Regions from separate parts of the Homo sapiens genome. Here region 1 is linked to region 2. Evidence: promoter capture Hi-C in 16 types of primary human blood cells and fetal thymus (Javierre and others, 2016). All regions are on one chromosome and are shown on one strand. Each heading gives the region's core, a stretch centred on a gene start or on the middle of the fragment in contact. The rest is flanking DNA. Distances are from core to core; before and after follow the strand shown.

Region 1 (5,245 bases), core at 1,731-4,230, 100 kb before region 2:
TGGGGCCACTATATGGCCACTGTATGGCGCCCCGTCCTTGCTTCTTTGCATATTAGCTCAGAAGTTCAAGGCATGCAGATCTAGTCAGCAGGGCCTAGATCATATGAGCAGTTGAAGGAGAATGGGCAATAACTAGAGATGAAGAAAGAGTTGAGCCAGTGCTTTCTGCTGGCCTCTCCCTTTCTTGCTAATTTTTAAATAATGTCCTCCTACTCCCCCACCGTTGCTTTTCGAAGTTTAGAATCCCCAAACAATCTTAGTAATTTGCACATTCATTGCCAAAATTAACACAGTTGGAAGCACTAGGTTAAGACATCTAATAGCCGGCTGTTCTTCGTAAATATTTATCAGACCATTTTTAGACAGTGGTAATGGGTCCAATTAATATTTATGAATGTAAAATAGAAATCCCTAAATGGTTATGATGGCATTCTTCTGGTATTTCTTTAAAATTCATCATTAGCTCCTGAATAGAGTCTGCCGAGTGCCTTGTGAAACCAATTAAAATCTTAATACCTATTTGGGGTGATTTTCTTTCCCTATTTCTTGGTACATCAGCTGCACTGTCAACTATGGCCCCCCTCCAATAAACTATAATCCACCCAACAGAGTGAGCAATCAAACAGCCCAGTGAAAATTTACTTGAATTCCACAAATTTTGGGGTAAACTCATTAATTTTCTCAGAAAGCTTCCAAGAGGGTAAGTGGCAGCCCAGAATAAGATACTTATTTGTGAATTGCTTGGCATGTAGTCACAAGCCTTAATTTCACATACAAGGAAATGCTTTTAGCTGCAAGAATTTTTATTTCTACTCAGGATACAACAAACCCATCCTCTAAAATTCTAGCAATTAATTTATTGCTGAAATTTAGAGATTTTTTAAATGAAAGCCATCATTGGCAGTAAAGATTATAGACAATAAATGTTTACACATGGTAAATTCCAACAGACTACATCTGTCAGATTTAGACTCAATTGATAGTTATTGAACATAGACTATGTGTCAGGCACTGTTCTTTACAAGTTTACAAACATCTCAACTGTCCTATAAACTTATGAGGTAGATTCAATCCCATTTTACTGATGAAAGAAGCAAAGCTCAAAGTCTATGGGACTTAAAAGAGATTACAAAGCTAGCAGGTGGTAAAGCCAGGGTTTGAGCCTGTGTCCTGATCCAAATCAGCTCTCTGCCTCAGCAGAGTGACCCCGGATGCAGAAGAGTTTCATCATGAAAGAGTAGTTAAGGTAGGCTAAGCTTTAGGCAGAAATGTGTAACTTCTAGCATTATTATGCAGGCTCAGATATTATGAATTAATCCATTGTTAGGCCCGAAGTGTTGAGATTCCACTGAGACACTACAACTTGGCATCCAATCATTCAAAACTGGGTTGAAAGGCAGGACATGTCCAAAGCAAATAAGCATTTCACCTGATGAAAGGATGCCTTAAAGTGATGAAAGATGGCTAGATATAAATCTCTTCATATCTCAATGCATAGATTTAGAAGGTAAAAACAAACACAACAAAACAGCATACAAAATAATGATATAGAATTGTCTTTTTATGCTAAATGACTATGTAATTGGACAGTCAATGACTGGGGAAGATATTTTGCACAACCTTTTTTTGTTCTTCTTCTAACTCATGATTCTCATACATATTTGTTGCCAAAATGAGTAAATCTAGGCCTGCAGATTAGGTCTTAGAGCTGGTCCAAGGGTGCATTACCATGACTCCCAGGGCCATCTGGGGAATAGATGCTTGCTTTAACTTCACAGCATGGTATTGAGGGTCATATCTGGCCCAAGCTGCTTTAGCTTGGAGAGGTTGAGAGTAAAGACTAAGAAGTTTATTTAGGCATACAAGTACTCTGTTACCTATTCCTGCACGTGTACTGTATATCATGTATACTCTGCAATGAATTAGATACACCTGGCTAGGGCGCAGTCTTTAGCATCATGCATGTAAGACTAGGTCTGAAGGGGCAGTTGACCTTCAAAAGGTCTAATGTGAGCATCACTTGCTCAAACTTACTATCCTCAGTTGTGTATCTGCTGATGTGGCCCATCGGAGGGATTCTCGAGTGTAAGCACTTCTGTCTGTTAATAAAGATTAAGAGCTGATCTCTTTGCTACATATCCTAACTGCTCTGACTTCGTGCTGCACATTCAGATATGTAAACCTTGTTTGATTTACCCAAGTAATGTCTTTGGCTGTTCAGTCAATTTGAACCAATTTTTTATATTTGTCAAAATGTTATATGTGCTGAGTCAAATATCTACCATAATTCTATGACCTTTGATTGCTGATTAAAGACTCCTTTCAAAGGAGATAGGTAGATTTATTGACAAGCTGATGTCCAGCAATGGTTCTCATCCTTGACCAAAATGTAAGGCTAACCCTGAAGAAAGGCTTTCTTTCTTACACATCCATCTAACATGATTACTGTTTTAGACATTTCCACATATCCTTAAACTAAATTCTGCCAAGTAACTCACATAGGATGGAATGTCTAGGGCAAAACAGGCATAAAATATATGAAATGTGAAATATGCTGTAGCAGAAAGCTTCTAGAAGAGGAGATCTTTGTGTGGTAACAGTGGCTAATGTCCTTTTGTATGTAATATTTTGGTGTGCTCTATATGAAGGGAGAAATCCTTCAGAAGTAAATTGTTACTAACTTGAAAACCTAGGTCTAGATCTAGGGGAATTAATAATCTCGGGAAAATATTTTTATCTGCAATATATAATGTTAAATTCACTCCTACTCAGCAGAAACCTACTCCTTCCCTTCTACTGAGTTTATGGGTGATGGGTTCCTCACTCCATTTCTACCGTTCGTTTAACCATTTAACCATAACTTTTACTAAGAAGCACTCCTTTCCTCGCCATTTTATTAGCTTGCAGCTGTTTTCTCTCTGTGGCTTCAGGCCGAAAGAAAAAAAAATGAAGACATTATGTCTTTGAAAACTTTTTAAAAAGCTATTTCATTCTTATCATTAATTTCGTATGTGGAAAATGTAGAATTGTATTAGATACATTATTTTCTGATGTAATTTAGATGCATGAAAAGTTTAGCTATTTTTGGATTCATTTTTTCTTTTATTTTCTTTTTATCTGTCATTAATTCTGTACTGAAATTTTTAAGATTAATGAAGATATTTGGTAAGATTTTTCTTTCAACCATTTTCTGGTTTGTATAGCCCACCAATACTGCTGTTTTGTGTTAGAAAAGACTGAGTCACGAAAGGAATAAAATTTTTTGTACTGGGTCTCACGGTGAAATAATGGTACCCCGTTACTTAACCTACTGGTTTTTACTCTTCTACTCCTTCAGATGTAATTAAATTAGCTTACTTGCTTAAAAAGTAACATTCCAAGCTAAAAGCTTGGAATTGTCATTTAGGTCAGTTTTATTTTATTTTATTATTATTTGTTGAGATGGAGTCTCGCTCTGTCACCCAGGCTGGAGTGCAGCGACGCGATCTTGCCTCACTGCAAGCTCCGCCTCCCGGGTTCACGCCATTCTCCTGCCTCAGCCTCCCGAGTACCTGGGACTACAGGCACCCACCATCATGCCCGGCTAATTTTTTGTATTTTTAGTAGAGACGGGGTTTCACCGTGTTAGCCAGGATGGTCTCGATCTCCTGACCTCGTGATTCGCCTGCCTCGGCCTCCCAAAGTGCTGGGATTACAGGCATGAGCCACCGTGCCCGGCCTAGGTCAGTTTTATTTTTTTAAATTTAAGCAGTGGTGCTTTAAGTGTTTTAAAGTGAACCATTGAAATGTAACAACCACAGAAAAGTGCACGGATCTTAAATTTTACAGTTTAATAAATTTTCACAAACTAGAAATACTTGTAACTACCAAAATAAGAAAATGAACATAACCAGGACACTGGATGCCCCCTTGGACTCTGACCCCAAGAGGAGCTGCTATCCTGACTTTCATACTATAGATTACTTTTGCCTATTTTGAACTTTATATAAATACAAACATACATCATGTATATCTTTGGGTCTGACTTATTTCACTCAACATTATGTTTATGATACTCATCCATATTGGTACATGTAACAATAGTTTGTTCATTCTTGTTTTGGGTAGATCATACTTTATTCTATTATTGATGAACTTCTGGGTTGCTTGCATTTCAAGGCTATTACAAATAGTGCTGCTATGAACATTCTTGTACACATTGTTGGTGAATATATTTGTATGTTTCTGTTGGATATATATCTAGGAATTGAATTGTCAGGTCATATGGCCTCACTTAGTATGGGCTATCTTTTCATTTTGGTAGGTTGAATGGTGTGTGAGAGTTGGCTCATACTGGCCCTAAGGAACCAATGCTTACATTTTCAGGAATTCTGTGAGCTGGTTGTTAAACACATTATTAAAAATTAAATTATATAAATTTAAATAAGTTATATTATATATTATATGTTACTATATATAATATAGAGATACACAAAATATATATACAATATATTTGTTAAATAATATATAATACAACTTATTTATATTATATATTATATATTACAAAGGTAATAAGTATCTGAAATTCATCGCCTCCACGCTATATTTGTCTATTATCTGTGCTCTTAAGGTTACTTACATCAACCATGTCTGTGTTGTGGAAATGCCACACCACGGTGTGCTGTTCTGCATCCCTCCAGCAATGTCACGTGGCTAACTTGACAATGGCCGCAATGGAGTATTTACACCACAGAAACTATGAAATGCTACTAATTTCAAGGCTTAATTTATTATTTTGTTGATTTATGCAGACTTAAGAAAGTGATACAGAAAATGTTAATAATGCAGATTAAACTCTAAAGTGCCATGTTTGTAGTTGATATGTTGTGGCTAGCATAAATAAAAATTTGTAAAAGCATGGTTGAATTGCAACTTTAGATACAGACACAAGGGTTCAGCAAAAATCAACAAAAACATCTTTAAGAATCAACTGGCAGTCCGGGTACTGTGGCTCATGCCTATAATCCCAACAGTTTGGGATGTCAAGGCAGGAAGATCACTTGAGTCCAGGAGTTCAAGATCAGCCTGGGCAACATGGTGAGACCCCCAGTGCTGGGCACAGTGCTTCGTACTTGTGGTCCCAGTTTCTGGGAAGGCTGAGGCGGGAGGACTGCTTGAGTCCAGGAGGTTGAGGCTGCATTGAGCCATGGTGGTGCCACTGCACTCCAGCCTATGCGACAGAGCAAGACTCTGTCTCAAAACAAAA
Region 2 (5,102 bases), core at 685-3,184:
GTAGAATTTGGCATATATGATCTTGTGTGACTCCCAAGTCTAGGCCTTAAGAAATTTTACAGCTTCTGCCTGCTCTCTTCTGGATGTTGCCCACAGACCAAAAACATAGCCTACTGCAGGATAAGAGGCCACATGGAGCCAACAGCAGACACATGAGTGAGGCCACCTTGGACTTTCAGCTTAGCTGATTCTCCAGTTCAGGGATCAGCAAACTACAGCCTGTAGGCCATAGCCTGCTTCTGTATGGCCCTTGAGCTATGAATAGCTTTGGGTTTTTAATAGTTTATAAAAATTAAATAAAAAAGAATATGTGACAGAGACAAAGTCTAAAATATTTACTATCTGATCCTGTTTTACAGAAAACTTGGCCAACCCCTGCTACAGCTGAATGTATCTATACGAGTGAGCCAAATCAAAACCAGAGAGGAACCACATAACCAACCTTCAGAATTATGAGAAATATTAAATTGACATTTTTGCAAGCAACTATATTTTGGGAGAGTTCGATCTGCAGCAATAGATGACTCAATCACAAGCTGATAAATGCTACACAAAGAAAAAGGAGACTGCTTCAAAGGAAATAATCTCATAAAGGTTTTGGGCCTTTTTGTCTCACTTACTTCATTTAGGAGAATTTCTTACCCCAATCTGTTGTCCATGGCTCTGCTTTGCATTCCAGGGAAGTTTTGGCAGCTATGAGCACATATACCTGCTGGTTACTCAAAGGACATTCAAAACATTTTAAAAATGAGTATTGAAATACAACTTTTCTAAAATTTTAAGAAACGGAATTTGTAAAATATAGTATTAATGCCCTAAAGCATTCTTCCAAATAAGAGGTCTATTTTTTCAGCATATTAATCTATCTGCAGTGAAACCTGTCTGGTTTTGTTATTAATGGACCTCCTTGACTTAGTGAGGTGAACTGTCAGCCCAGGTAGGGTGAAGAATGGCTGTGATAAAGGCGTGCAGCAGGGCAGCAATCACTTTACCCTCTGCAAAGGACACAGCTACCTGCCAAGGCTGGAACCAGGAAAACAATCTCAACCATAATTTAGATCTGATTATTATAATTTAGATCTGATTATTTATGCAGTGTCAACTAAGTCCTTGACTTACACTGCTACTATCTAAACTTACTTTTGTTGTATATCCATTTTGATCTCTATATTCACCCCTATTATTTTCAGAGAACCTTCAAACTATCCTAAGTAATTTTGCAGAAAAAGGCTATAAGGAAGAAGCAGTCAGGCCAAAGAGTCAGTAAACAAAAAGAAATGGTGGGCCACGTTTAGTCTTGATGCAAATGTGTGGGTTACAATCAGGGGTGGTGCTCATGGCTGAGCTTGGTAGTGGTTAAATACATGATCCAGACCCACTTGATTTTGAGGAAAGGACCAGTACAATCAATACTGCACATCTTGGTAAAAGGAGTTTGAGGAGATGGATCTGGGAGTTTAGGTCAGCTATGCTCAGGTGTACAAAAGCAACTCCCTGGGACTCCCATCCATACACAGGCCATTGAAACCTGACGTGTCTCTCTTACCCCCATTCCATTCCCCATCGATTCCGGAAGAAGAACTGGCATTTCTTCTGAGACAGCAAAGAACTCCTCCTAAGATTTCCTCTTTCCTAATTAGTTCTGTATGAAGTTTAACAAGAAAATCCCTCCAGGGCCGCCTCGAGGCCATGCACTCACGCAGTTTGGAAAGACGACCAGGGAAAAAGGATCTCAAACAAAAATTCTAGCTCGACGTCTGCCACTAAGTTGTCTAATTTTGGCCAGCATCAACTAAAGGCATACATAACACGGCCGTGCTCGGAATGCAAGGTGACCGCGAGGACCCAGAGGGCGCGCCATGCGAGCTCACAGGGCTGGGGGCCGCCTGGGCCCGCGCGTGCAGCCAGGGGCTTCCGGCCGCGGCCCTGGCGCGTGGTCTGCGCGCGCCCGGCCGTGCGTGCGGATGCGGGGAGGCTGCGTGTGTGCGCAGGGAGAGAACGCCGGCCACCTTCCCGCTTCCGAGCTGGGTGCGCGCCGAGCACAGGAGGTGAGTGAGAAGGGCGGCCCTGCAGGGTCTCCGAGGCGGTTGAGTCCTGCCACTGGGTGGAGGGTATAGCCACCGGACCCGCCTTTCCCGGAACGCGCCGTCCTCGGAAACGCCTAGACCCCGGCAGCTAGGCCGGGAGGCACCGCCCACTCCTCTAGAGCGGAGCGTGGCCCAGGTTGAGCCGCCGCACCGTGGGTCTCGGGTCTCGGTGACGAGCAGCTGCCCGCCTCCGGTGAGCGCGGGAGAAGGGGCCCAGTGGGGCAGTGGGCGACGCGGAGGGCCCAGGCCCAGGCCGCGGCCGCGCCGCATCCGCTGGTTGTCCACCTTGCCTTGCCCCAGGGTGCAATACCTGCCTTGCGTCGCCCGTGCCGCTCCAGCCACCGTCAAATCCGGGTAGCGACCCGGGGCGTTTGCAGCGGTGCCGAGGAAGAGGACGGGAACGGTGTTACGGTATTGGTGGGCCCCTAACAGGCCTGCGGCGAACGCTTTCCCGGAGCGCTAGGGAAGGGCCCCGGCGCAGGGATGTCGGAGGGATTGGGAAGGAATGTGAAACTAAGTGGGGAATGTGGAGAACGGGCGGAGAGAGAAGGAAATCCCACGGGGCTAGGGCTACAGGATTCCTACAGGCAGTGTTAAGGAACATACAGGGCGTTTTAAAAAGATTCCTAGAGGTGCAACGGAGTCTCACTTTTCCAAGCAGTAAGGAATGATGCCATCCTCAAGTACGGGTAGTCTTTGAATTCAGTATCCGTTCGCCTTCTTAATGTTGGATTTAGGAGGGAGATTTGCAGGGCTTTCATGATTTTGTTTCCTCTGCGTTTTGCACAGATTGCCTGCGTTTAGGAGGTGGCTGCGTTGTGGGAAAAGCTATCAAGGAAGAAATTGCCAAACCATGTCTTTTTTTCTGTTTTCAGAGGTAAGGAAAATTTGGGTTTGCAGTGTTCAACTGGGAACAAGTTTTTTAGCTTCTCCCAGGAGGCTTAAGCAAAAGAAGGGCGCTGAATTTGTGCTCTTAGTATGCATGTGTCGATGCCTGATAAAAGCACAAATTACTGAACGCGTATCAGTCTGGAGAACAGAATCGTTTATTACTAACAGATAAGAGACTATGACTTTTTTCCCCTCATAGACTAAAATGTTCGTTCAAATGAATGGCCATTGGATAACTCCAGACCTGAAAATAAACACTGTTGTCAAAACAGCATCCAGGCCGGGCGCGGTGGCTCACGCCAGTAATTCCAGCACTTTGGGAGGCCGAGGCGGGCAGATCACCTCAGGTCGGGAGTTCGAGATCGGCTTGGCCAACGTGGTGAAACCCCGTCTCTACTAAATATACAAAATTAGCTGGGTGTGGTGGCACACACCTGAAATCCCAGTTCCTCGGGGGGCTGAGGCAGGAGAATTGCTCGAACCCGGGAGGCAGAGGTTGCAGTGAGCCGAGATTGTGCCATTGCACTCCAGCCTGGGCAACAGAGTGAGACTCCATCTCCAAAACAAACAAAAAACAAAAAAACAGTGTCCAAGTATAATTTCAGATTAGAGCATGAGGTGATTTGAAAGCGAGAAGAGAGGATCAAGGCTTTTCCAAAAATGAAAAAAGTGTTGATATGTAATAAATGGCTCCAAAAACAACTTGCTAAGTATACAACATTGATTTTAGATGTCATAATTCCTAATGTTATGACTCATATATATTTTTTTCTGTTCTTCTGTTCAGTAGTTCACAACAGATCTGAGTGTTTTAATTAAGCATGGAATACAGAAAACAACAAAAAACTTAAGCTTTAATTTCATCTGGAATTCCACAGGTAAGTTCATCTACTTTTAACTTATAAATTATCCTAATTGGTTAAAAATGCCCATAATAATGCCCTTTACAAGGTTTTAAGTATCGTTGATGCAGCCACGAAGTTTGTTGTATATTCTAGTACGATTCTTTCATCAGAGGATTTGAAGAAATTCAAGAGTGAAGCTCTACTAAGCCATTTTGGATAATATATTTTTTTCTTTTTTCTTGCTTGAAAAATAGAGACAAGGCCACTTTATGTTTCCCAGGCTGGACTGGAACCCCTGGGCTCAAATGATCCTCCTACCTAAGCCTGCAGAGTAGCGAGGACTTCAGGTGTGTGCCACCTCACCCGGCTCTAATAATATATATATTTTCTAAAAAATTGAATTATTAAAATACCATGGTTCTTCAGGAAAACCCAATAACTATAAAAAGTTAATTTGGTGGGTCATATTCAACTTCAAGTTCTGACTCAATTCCCTTTATGCCTAAGAAAATGCTCCATTGAGTACTTTTTCTCTTTCCCCTTTGGATGGATGATGTCTCTTCTTCTTGTGCCCAGCCTCCAGCTTTGTTCCATCCACCATTGGATGATGCAGGTAGAACCCTCTTTTGGGAAATGTCTTTGTCCCTTTCACAACTATATCATGTCCAGACCAAAGAAGCTTTTAACAGGATGGATCATGGTTGCTCGCTATGGGGTAAACTCCCACTGTGTGGTAGATAGCCACATGGATGGGGTCAAGCACGTGGGATCAAACAGGATACTCTTAATGACCTTGCACAACAGATACATTCAAAAGTTACAGTTCATTTAACAGCAGGCTGTTTGGCAAACATCTCTCTTGGGACTATGGACAATGCTTTTATACTAATAAAAAATTGTATATTATAAATACTGATTTGCTTTTGTTACCAGTCCTTTTGGCATATTGTGAATTAGAGGCTAGGGGAAGATGAGAGGATGAGCTAGAAATACGGCAGTTTGTAGGGGGCGCATCAGCATGGGGAAGGAAGATGAAGCCACAGAACATCTGTAGGGTAGGGCCCCAAGTGCTGGAAGGTTGGGAGATTTGGCTGGGGAGATAACCTGCACTCCTTGAATCTCTGAGACATTAAGGAACTAAAAGAAAGCTAGAGTAGGTTATCGGTTTCCCACCCCATGTATTTCTGACTCTGAACACAGGTAGGTAGGTAGGATCTCATTGTCTGTTGCTTCTCTTTCTGTGTCTGTTATCTGGAACTATATTTAGCTATTTTGTTTC

What was found. Contacts are between HindIII fragments. The CHiCAGO score rates a contact against its expected background, and 5 or more counts as called.
Region 1: a fragment that was not itself captured here is called in contact with the fragment with the promoter of B3GALNT1 in region 2 in 1 of 17 cell types (endothelial precursors); the score reaches 5.3 in endothelial precursors.

The regions. Positions count from the first base shown.
Region 1 is chr3:161,203,857-161,209,101 of GRCh38, reverse strand. No RefSeq gene overlaps it. Among named protein-coding and RNA genes, the nearest start is that of NMD3, 15 kb to the left of the region's middle. The HindIII fragment of the contact is 821 bases long and covers 2,570-3,390 here.
Region 2 is chr3:161,102,181-161,107,282 of GRCh38, reverse strand. It overlaps B3GALNT1 (beta-1,3-N-acetylgalactosaminyltransferase 1 (Globoside blood group)), which reads left to right and starts at 1,934. Exons shown (of 5, transcript NM_003781.4): 1 at 1,934-2,048; 2 at 2,877-2,964; 3 at 3,766-3,856. It overlaps LOC124909453 (a long non-coding RNA gene), which reads right to left and starts at 2,602. Exons shown (of 2, transcript XR_007096147.1): 1 at 2,398-2,602; 2 at 1-712. RefSeq lists silencers at 2,030-2,119, 2,130-2,379. The HindIII fragment of the contact is 4,654 bases long and covers 1-3,832 here.